Regions from separate parts of the Homo sapiens genome. Here all the other regions are linked to region 2. The links are contacts of gene promoters, found by promoter capture Hi-C in blood cells and fetal thymus (Javierre and others, 2016). All regions are on one chromosome and are shown on one strand. The core of a region is centred on a gene start or on the middle of the fragment in contact, and the rest is flanking DNA. Distances in the headings are between cores, read along the strand shown.

Evidence for each region. Contacts are between HindIII fragments. The CHiCAGO score rates a contact against its expected background, and 5 or more counts as called.
Region 1: a contact is called between a fragment that was not itself captured here and the fragment with the promoter of C2orf81 in region 2, in 4 of 17 cell types (naive CD4 T cells, erythroblasts, activated CD4 T cells and 1 more). The highest score is 6.8, in naive CD4 T cells.
Region 3: a fragment that was not itself captured here is called in contact with the fragment with the promoter of C2orf81 in region 2 in 7 of 17 cell types (total B cells, naive B cells, naive CD4 T cells and 4 more); the score reaches 7.9 in total B cells.

What each region holds. Positions count from the first base shown.
Region 1 is chr2:74,236,674-74,239,675 of GRCh38, reverse strand. It overlaps SLC4A5 (solute carrier family 4 member 5), which reads left to right. Exons shown (of 31, transcript NM_133478.3): 21 at 141-341. Among named protein-coding and RNA genes, the nearest start is that of MTHFD2, 40 kb to the right of the region's middle. The HindIII fragment of the contact is 1,210 bases long and covers 936-2,145 here.
Region 2 is chr2:74,419,878-74,422,935 of GRCh38, reverse strand. C2orf81 (chromosome 2 open reading frame 81) reads left to right here and starts at 1,317. Exons shown (of 3, transcript NM_001316764.3): 1 at 1,317-1,393. The coding sequence starts at 1,376. It overlaps WDR54 (WD repeat domain 54), which reads right to left and starts at 1,206. Exons shown (of 10, transcript NM_032118.4): 1 at 1,120-1,206; 2 at 561-783; 3 at 4-66. The coding sequence starts at 782. RefSeq lists an enhancer at 527-706 and a silencer at 1,107-1,386. The HindIII fragment of the contact is 12,224 bases long and covers 1-2,320 here.
Region 3 is chr2:74,586,553-74,589,889 of GRCh38, reverse strand. All of the region lies in intron 4 of M1AP (meiosis 1 associated protein), which reads left to right. Among named protein-coding and RNA genes, the nearest start is that of DOK1, 34 kb to the right of the region's middle. The HindIII fragment of the contact is 950 bases long and covers 1,424-2,373 here.

The sequences.
Region 1 (3,002 bases), core at 291-2,790, 180 kb after region 2:
CCCAGGAACATCACTCTGGGGGGCTGGGGTCCCTCAGAGGGTGGGAAGGTATGCTGGCTGCCTGGGGACTGCAGTGGGAAGGACACAGCTGACTCATCAGGAAGATGCTGACCCATTCTCTCCTGTGCTTGGTCTCCAAGTACAACCTCCTTAACCTCACAGCGTTGGACTGGTCCCTGCTGAGCAAGAAGGAGTGTCTGAGCTACGGCGGGCGCCTGCTTGGGAATTCCTGCAAGTTTATCCCAGACCTGGCGCTCATGTCCTTCATCCTTTTCTTTGGGACATACTCCATGACCCTGACCCTGAAGAAGTTCAAATTCAGCCGCTATTTTCCTACCAAGGTAAGCTCACCCTGCAGTTAGGAGGGGACCTGCAGTCAGACAGCTGCTGAGTCCCCCAGAGAGGGTTCTGGTCCACCGACAGGATGGACTCCATGCGAGCACTGGCCCACTGGGGTTTTTCAAGTTAAGTCAGAGAGAACTGTGTTCCCTTGTTGGCTGGTCCCCTTGACAACACTTGGTATTGTCAGGCTTTTATCTTTAGTCTTTGTCTATAGTAGTATCTCATTGTGTTTTTTAAATTTTTCATTTCCCTGATGACTAATGAAGTTGAAAATACAGCTATTCCTGTGTTTATTGGCCACATGCCCAATTGCCTTTCTTTTTGGAAGTGTCTGTTGAAATCTCTTGCACATTTTGGGTTGTCTGCCTTTCTGATTTGCAAGAGTTTGTTATATATTCTGGGTAGAAATGTTTTTGTGATTATATGTGTTGCAAAATCTTCTCCCACTCTGTGACTGTTTTTTTCTTTTTACATCCTTAATGGCATCTTTTGATTAACAGAAATTCTTAGTTTTATTGTAATTGAATATATCAAACTTTCCTCAAGGCAAATATTGGACAGCAGATATTCTTGTATGTTACCTTCTAAAAGCTTCATTGTTTTTCCTTTCATGTTAGATCTACAATCCATCAGAATTGATTCTGATGTGTACTGTGAGACAGTGTTTCTTTGTGATTTTATATAGTCAATTGTTCCAGTATTTTTTAAAGACTATTCTTTCTCCATTGCTTTGCAATACTTCCTTTGCCATATATCAAATATTCCTATATGACAGGGTCTGTTTCTGGGTTCTTTATTCTGTTTCACTAGTTTATTTATATATCAGTATCACAGTCTTCATTTCTGTAGCTTATAAGTCTTTATATCTTTGTCTCCCAAGCTCTCCCCTTTTGTCCTTTTTATATAATATTTTCTTGGCCCTTTGCATTTCCACATGAATTTTAGAATCATCTTAAATTTCACCAAAATGAAAACTTGTTGGAATTTTGATGGGATTATCTTTGCCTCTGTTTGGGAAGAATTAACGTCTTTCAAATTTTGAGTTTTTCTGATTTATGAATACAGTATACTTCATTTATTTTGGTCTTCTTTCTCTCCATAATGTTTTATACATTTTGATCTTTAAGTCTTGAACATTTTTTGTTAGAGTTATTCCTAGGTACTTGATTTTTTTATACCGTCGTAAATGCTAACTGCTATGTTATTATTATTTTATTATTATTATTATTTTTGAGACAGAGTCTCACTCTGTCACCCAGGTGGGAGTGAAATGGCATGATCTCGGCTCACTGCAACCTCCGCCTCCCGGGTTCAAGTGATTCTCCTGCCTCAGCCTCCCAAATAGCTGGGACTACAGGCGCCTGCCACCACACCCGGCTAATTTTTGTAATTTTAGTTGAGACGGGGTTTCACCATGCTGGCCAGGCTGGTCTTGAACTCCTTACCTCAGGTGATCCCCCCACCTCAGCCTCCCAAAGTGCTGGGATTACAGGTGTGAGCCACCGCACCCAGCCCTAACTGCTGTTTTAAATTTTATTTTCTACCTGTTTGTGGCTGGAATAAAAGATTTATGAAAACAGCACTTGCATACATAAGCAGTAACTGTGCCGTGGGGTGGGGGGTACTCGGAAGAATTTAAGCAACTCTTTCCCACCGTAAACTCCATTAGCAGTCTCCTAAAGCCATCTTAACTAAGTATTACAGCTGCTACTGCTACTAATCATAATGATAAAATCTTTGAAATAAATAGTTGAATTTTTCCCAGATTTTCTAAAGACTAAATAAAAGGTGCTTTAGGAAGCTTCACAGTATATAAACTGAGTAAAAAAATAGTTTGCTTACAACACAAATGCACCATCAAGACAAGTTCTCTTCCTTCCTGCCCACTTCCAGTCCAGAGCACATCCCTCAATCTCCTCTTATGTAAAAATTCTCAAGCAGTCACTGTATCTGAGAGTATCTATCTGTTGCCTACAGGATGAAAAGTAATTCATGTGGCATGAAATTCTTGTGCCAACAACATTTTTTCCGTCACATTACTTAAAAATTGCTCAGTTGGGCCAGGCACAGTGGCTCACGCCTGTAATCCCAGCACTTTGGGAGGCCCAGGCAGGCGGATCACGAAGGCAGGAGATCGAGACCATCCTGGCTAACATGGTGAATCCCCGTCTCTACTAAAAATACAAAAAATTGGCCGGGCGTTGTGGTGGGCGCCTGTAGTCCCAGCTACTTGGGAGGCTGAGGCAGGAGAATGGCATGAACCCGGGAGGCAGAGCTTGCCGTGAGCAAAGATTGCGCCACTGCACTCCAGCCTGGGCGACAGAGAGAGACTCTGTCTCAAAAAAAAAAAAAAAAATTGCTCAGTTGCCTTCTGGAATTTCCGGTTGCAGAGAGGAATGAGGCCACACCATTTTATACTCATCAGATTGGTAGACAGATGAAGGTCTTGGGACACCAGATGTTGGAGATGGAAAGCAGTAGGTGGGAATGTAGACAGATACATCCAATTTGGAGAGCAACTGACACTCTCTGATTAGGTTGGACCATATGAAGTTGCCCATATTTGACTGTTTCAACCTACAAAAAAAGTCAAGTTCATGTGGTTTAACTTAATAAGCATTCATATGGTTTTGATGTATATGCTAGGAATATTATAGAAA
Region 2 (3,058 bases), core at 68-2,567:
TACCTGTATTCCTCGATGTGAGGTGAGTACCAGCAGCACTCGGAAGGGGAGGACACACCAGTGGACCTGGAGGGAGGTGCATCAGTGTAGGGAGAAAATCAAAGCAGGGAAGATGAGTTTGTTTGTTTTTTTTTTTTTTTTGGGGGACGGAGTCTTGCTCTGTGGCCCAGGCTGGAGTGCAGTGGCGCCATCTCGGCTCACTGCAACCTCAGCCTCCTGGGTTCAAGCGATTCTCCTGCCTCAGCCACCCAAGTAGCTGGGATTACAGGTGCACGCCACCACACCCGGTTAATTTTTTTTGTATTCTTAGTAGAGAAGAGGTTTCACCATGTTGGCCAGGCTGGTCTCGAACTCCTGGCCTCAAGTGCCCGTCTCAGCCTCCCAAAGTGTTGGGATTACAGGCGTGAGCCACCGCGCCCGGCAGGAGAGGGGAGATTCTGAGGTTAGGACATGCCTGGGGAGATTCTGAGGTTAGGACATGCCTGCTCCTGAAGGTTTGGAGAGAAAAGGCTGGGGGTAGGACTGGGTTCAGCAACATCACTCCCAGCTCCATGCCTCACCTGAGTGATAAGTGGGGGACTCACTCCAGCACCCTCCTTAGCGTGGAGCTGGCGCTGGGCCAAGGGCACACCCTCAGGAGCAGCGCTGAGAAGCTGGGCGCTTGGTCCATGAACCACGCCAAAATACGTGAGGTTGCGAGCCGGCAGCTGCAGCACACTGAGGTTGTTGCACAGGGCGGCGGCCGAGCCTCGCAGGGGAATGGAGCGCTCCCAGCGGAACATCCTGTGTGGGGGTGCAGCCGAATCACCAGGCGCGCTACAAACAGACGCAGCGGAGATGCCCGAGGGCGGCTATCATCGAGCATTTCGGAAGATGCCTGAGACTGGGTCATAGGATGGGGTGCCCAGAGGACGGTGATGGGGGAGGGTCTCGAGGAGCAAGACAGGGGAGTCCCAGGGCTGTTTTGGGGCGACGGGGGAATCGCAGAGGAGGAATGGGGATGACACAGGACCACCCGATGGCCCCAAGCCCGCGAGCCAAATAAGTGTGATGAAGCCCCCAAGGCTTTCTCCCTCGGCTCGGATCCCTGAAGCCCCCGGCCTAGATCAGAGGTAACACCTGCAGCCCCAGATCGGCTCGCCTGACTCCTGGTTCGTAGGGTCCCTCCAAATCCGCCGCCACCATAGAGACGACGCACGTACGCACGGCCCTTGGGCGGGGTGAGCGGCCGGAACGTGCCGCGGGCGGCGCGGTTGCCGGGGCAACTGTGGGCGGGGCGAGCGACCCCGAGCCCGTGGTTGCCCAGGCGACTGTTAGGTGGCTTACGCGGCCCGGATGCAGCAGAAACACCAGCGTTGCTGCGACCGCGTTGGCGATGGCGCACGAAGGCTCGGTGAGCTTCAGTTCAGCTGGGGATGCGCCAGAGCCAGGGTCGGCCGTTAAGGTCGGTGTCGGGAACAGTGGGCTGGCTCTGGGCCGCCCAGTGCCCCTACTTGCTCCCGCCCACCGCGCGGGAGTTTAGATGACCAAGGAAGCCACGTCGGTACTCGGGCAGAAAACCTACACCTGCACGGTGCCCACTCAAACGCTTTGTTACACTCAAGCCATGAGGGAAAGGGTCAGTGGGTGGTGTAGAGCCCGAGAACAGGAAGTGGATTTTGAAACAGCTAATGAATGTAGTAAGTCTCTTACATGGTGGTGCGTATTTAAATGGATGAGCATTTAGAGAGGGAAGATAACAGAAAAAATCTATTTCGAGAATTTCAAGAGGAAGAAATATATTAAATAATTCAGAGACTGCACTTGAAAGTCAAATTGTTTAAGAGCCAATCAATTTTAAAATAAAGAAAACGGGGCCGGTCTCAATGGCTCATGCCTGTAATCCCAGCACTTTGAGAGGCTGAGGCGGGAGGATTGCCTGAGCTCAGGAGTTCAAGACCAGCCAGGCCAACATGGCGAGACCCCGTCTCGACTAAAATACAAAAAATTAGCTGGATGTGGTGGCGCGGTGCCTGTAATCCCAGCTACTCGGGAGGCAGAGGCAGGAGAATTGCTTGAACTCGGGAGGCGGAGGTTGCAGTGAGCCGAGATCGCGCCACTGCGCTCTAGCCTGGGTGACAGAGAGAGACTGTCTCAAAAAAAAAAAAAAAAAAAAAAAAAAAAGAAGAAGAAGAAAGAAAACGGATTTGAAGAGCCTTTGTGCAAAAATATCTCTGTCCCTTCTGGTCACCATCACGGGTGTCAGATGCGAGGCTGGGAGGGGAGGTCTAAGGAAACAACTCTCTTTACTCAGTCCAGTCAGCCCTGCTCTAGTCAAGCTTGGCCTGGGCTATGGGCCACTCCTGGTGCTTGCTACAGGGCTGTTCTCACTGGTGGATAGGGTTAATGAGACTTCAGGGATTTTGAGTTCTGCAAGACTTAGGAAACAGCAGATTTGGGGGGATAATGAATTTTAGGAAACAGATATGAGACAAGGTTTTAGCGGGGCAATAGGCAAAGGTTTGGGAAGATCACATTTGGAAGTACATTTTGGAAGGAACCAGGTTCAGGGAGACTGTTGTGGGGAATTGAGGGAGCTCCCAAGAGATTGTTTGTAAACTTTTTATGTCTCTAAAGTGAGTTTTGGGGACTAGTCTTTTTTTTTTTTTAAGTGATTACAAAAGGAAACAAACTCATTGTAGAGAACTTACAAAATAGAAAAGAGCATAGGAAGGAAACGTATCCTCTGTTATCATTTTGAAGTTTTCCTTTTGTTGAACACATAGTGGTTTACATATATGAGATCATAATTGATGTGTAAGTTTGTATCCTGCTTCTTTCAATTAACGTTACATCATAAACATTTGCTTTATGCCATTGCAAATTCTTTCTAAAGATTACCTTTAATGGCTGGGTTGGTGGCTCATGCCTGCAAGGTGGGCAGATCACTTGAGGCCAGTTCAAGACCAGTCTGGCCAACATGGCGAAACCCCATCTCTACTAAAAATAGAAAAAAAATTAGCCAGGCCTGGTGGCAGGCGCCTGTAATCCCAGCTACTCCGGAGGCTGAGGCAGGAGA
Region 3 (3,337 bases), core at 649-3,148, 170 kb before region 2:
AGCCAAAAGATTGGACACCCATAATATAAATCATCCATTGTGAACCATTAGTTCTTTAGTTAACAGTCAATTATTTTTTTCAGCCTGCCTTAGACTATATTAGCTTGATGAGGGCAGGTGAATGGACAACTGCTAACAATAGAATTCCCTGGGTAGCTGACCAGAGCTGGGAAAGAGGCATGTCCACTACAGGCTGAAGGATCTCTGCTTGAGCTCTGCTCATGGAACTCCCAGATTCCTCTTCCCTCCTTCCCCACTGCCTGCCAGCACCACACAACAGGAAAGCATAAGCGGTAAAGCTGGGCTGGGACATGTGGCACCTTACACAAGCTGATAGCTTGGGCACACCTTCAAACAAATATTTTTAAAATGCTAATTCAGTAGTTGTTTAGAAGCTAAGAGCTACAAAGAAAAAGAGAAAGAAAAAGGAACTTGCTTTACTCTGCCCCACTCTTGCACAGTTCCTGAGCAATACCAAATTGCAATAATGGAACCCACCCTTCTTCAAAGCAAGTGTAGTGACCCCTGTTGATACATGAGTGTGCCACTTTGGGGGTCTTGTCCTTCACCCCAGCAGCTTATTAGCTAGTCCTCACTTCCTTCCTTATTCTGCTTTAGTCTTCTGGCTAATCCCCCAACACAAAAAGCTCATTCCCATCTCAAGACCTTTGAACTTGCTCATCTCTCTATAAGAAACAATCTTCGCACAAATGTTTTTATGACTCACTTCACGTCATTCAAGTTTCTGCCCAACTGTCAGCTTCTTAAAGAATACTTCCCTGGCCAGCCAAGCTAAAACTTCACATGCATGCACGCGCGCGCGTGCACACACACACGCCCCTTTATTTTTCTTCATAGTATCTATCATCTGAAATTGTATTCTGTTTTATTTGCTTGCTTATTATCTGTTCTCTCACTAGAATGTAAGCCACGAAAGTAGGCAATTTGTCTCTTTTCTTGATGACACCAATAAGTGCCTAGCTCATAAAAGACAGTAAACTAATAAGTGCTTGAATGACTAAATAAATGAATGACTAAGCAAATGAATGAATGACAACAGTTCTCTCTCTCTGAGAAGAGTTCTGGGATATAAATTTTCTCTATCTCATTACAGTTATGGTGATGTTTTGACCCTCTTACAGACTGGGGCTCCAGGAAGATAGTCACCACTAGGTCCATTCCTGCAGTCACCTCTCTGCCCTGAGTTCACATGTTGATAACCACTACCACCACCCCTGCCAACTCTTTTCAAGGGGCTTCTCCTTTTTCCTAGGGTCCAAGCATCACTTCCACAAATGAGGCAAATGAGCTTAGAAAGACAAGCTTGACTGCCTCACCGTTGTAAGCTGTTAGATTATTCTCATGTTGTGTTGATTTAAAGACAATGGTTGGATGATGCTGCACTGCTGTTCCTGACTAAGCTTTATCTGCTGTGATTACTTACCCTGGTTGTTAACATCCTATAGCTATCCTGTATTCAGAGAGTAGACAGCTAATTGTAAACCAACCCAGGCAGGCTAAGATACTGTGACTCTATAGTCTCTGTAGTGGTTCTTGACCTTTTTGGGGTCATAGAGCTCTTTTGAGAATCTGATAAAAGCTAGGGGCTTTCCCCCTTCCCCCACCCCACCAAAATACATCTATGCATGTACAGATGAATTGTATATAATTTCAAGGGGTTCTCAGAATGTCTGAAGCCCATCCATGACACCCAAGTACAGGCCTCATGAATGTCATTCGGAAAGGAACAGGTCAGGCCTAGAGGTTAGGGCCCTGTGAGACGGGGGAAGATGTGGAGGACTGGGCAAGAGCACCTTTTCCTGGGCCTCTACTTTCCTGGGCCTCTATATTTTATGTGAAGAGAGAAATACAGACATTGTATATGCACGTATGTATGTTAAAGTCTCCTATTTTAAACACACTTTAATTTTATAACCCTATTTTAAGGTTTCTTCTGAGAGGGTCTACTTCAGGTATTACCTAATCTTCAGTCATTTGGCTTTCTTAGTTTTTTCCCATTGTGGCCGCAGGAGGGCAGGGTAAGTTCAAAAACAATGTGAATGCTGGCTGCAGCTTGGGCTGCAGTGAACCAGGCCTTCCTCACTGCTTTAACTATCCAAACACTAAGGGCCACCGTTTCACTCCTGTAACCTTTCCATTTCATGCCATTGGTGTGACCCGTTCATCTAGTGCATGGGTACCCTGCTCCCCAGCCAGTGAGGGAGCTGTTTTTCAACGTCTGAGAAGTCTCCTCCCCGATCCCCAGATTTAGCACATTTAGTCGTATTTGTGAAGAACACAATACATACTAGTTGTTGGTGTTCAATGTATGGTAGTCGGGGGTAGAAAGCAGTGACCAAGGGAAAAAAAGCTTTAAAAAAGGAAAACATATGGCCAGGCGTGGTAGCTCACACCTGTAATCCCAGCACTCTGGGAGGCCAAGGCAGGTGGATCACGAGGTCAGGAGATCGAGACCATCCTGGCTAACACGGTGAAGCCCCATCTCTACTAAAAATACAAAAAATTAGCAAAGCATGGCAGCAGGCGCCTGTAGTCCCAGCTACTCGGGAGGCTGAGGCAGGAGAATGGCGTGAACCCGGGAGGTGGAGCTTGCAGTGAGCCGAGATCGCGCCACTGCACTCCAGCCTGGGGGACAGAGCGAGACTCCGTCTCAAAAGAAAAAAGAAAAAAAAAAAAGGAAAATATATTATTATCCTAAAAGAGTTCATTTTGTGGATGAGAGAAAAGGAAGAAAATTATATTTGTTGGACCTACTGGATGCCATTTATAGATAATCATCTCGCTTTGTAGTGCTTTACTAAGAAATATGTTGTACTATTCCACTTCGCCCAAAATCACATAGCTAACAAATTTTTTTTTTTTTTTTGAAATGGAGTTTCGCTCTTGTTGCCCAGGCTAGTGTGCAATGGCGCGATCTCAGTTCACTGCAACCTCCACCTCCCAGGTTCAAGCGATTCTCCTGCCTCAGCCTCCCAAGTAGCTGGGATTACAGGCATGCACCACCACACCTGGCTAATTTTTTGTATTTTTAGTGGAGACCGGGTTTCTCCATGTTGGTCAGGCTGGTCTCAAACTCCCGACTTTAGGTGATCTGCCCGCCTCAGCCTCCCAAAGTGCTGGGATTACAGGCGTGAGCCACCGTGCCCGGCTGCTAACAACTTTTAATTCTCAAGTCAAACCCTGGTCTTTCCATTAAGCCTTTCATAAACTCAGGAAAAGAGAAGAAAATCCTTTAAAAAAAAATAAATCAGCAGTGCGATTAATATTGCCCAAATGAAGCCCACAGATACCCAGGGATGGCAATTAAAGCTAGATA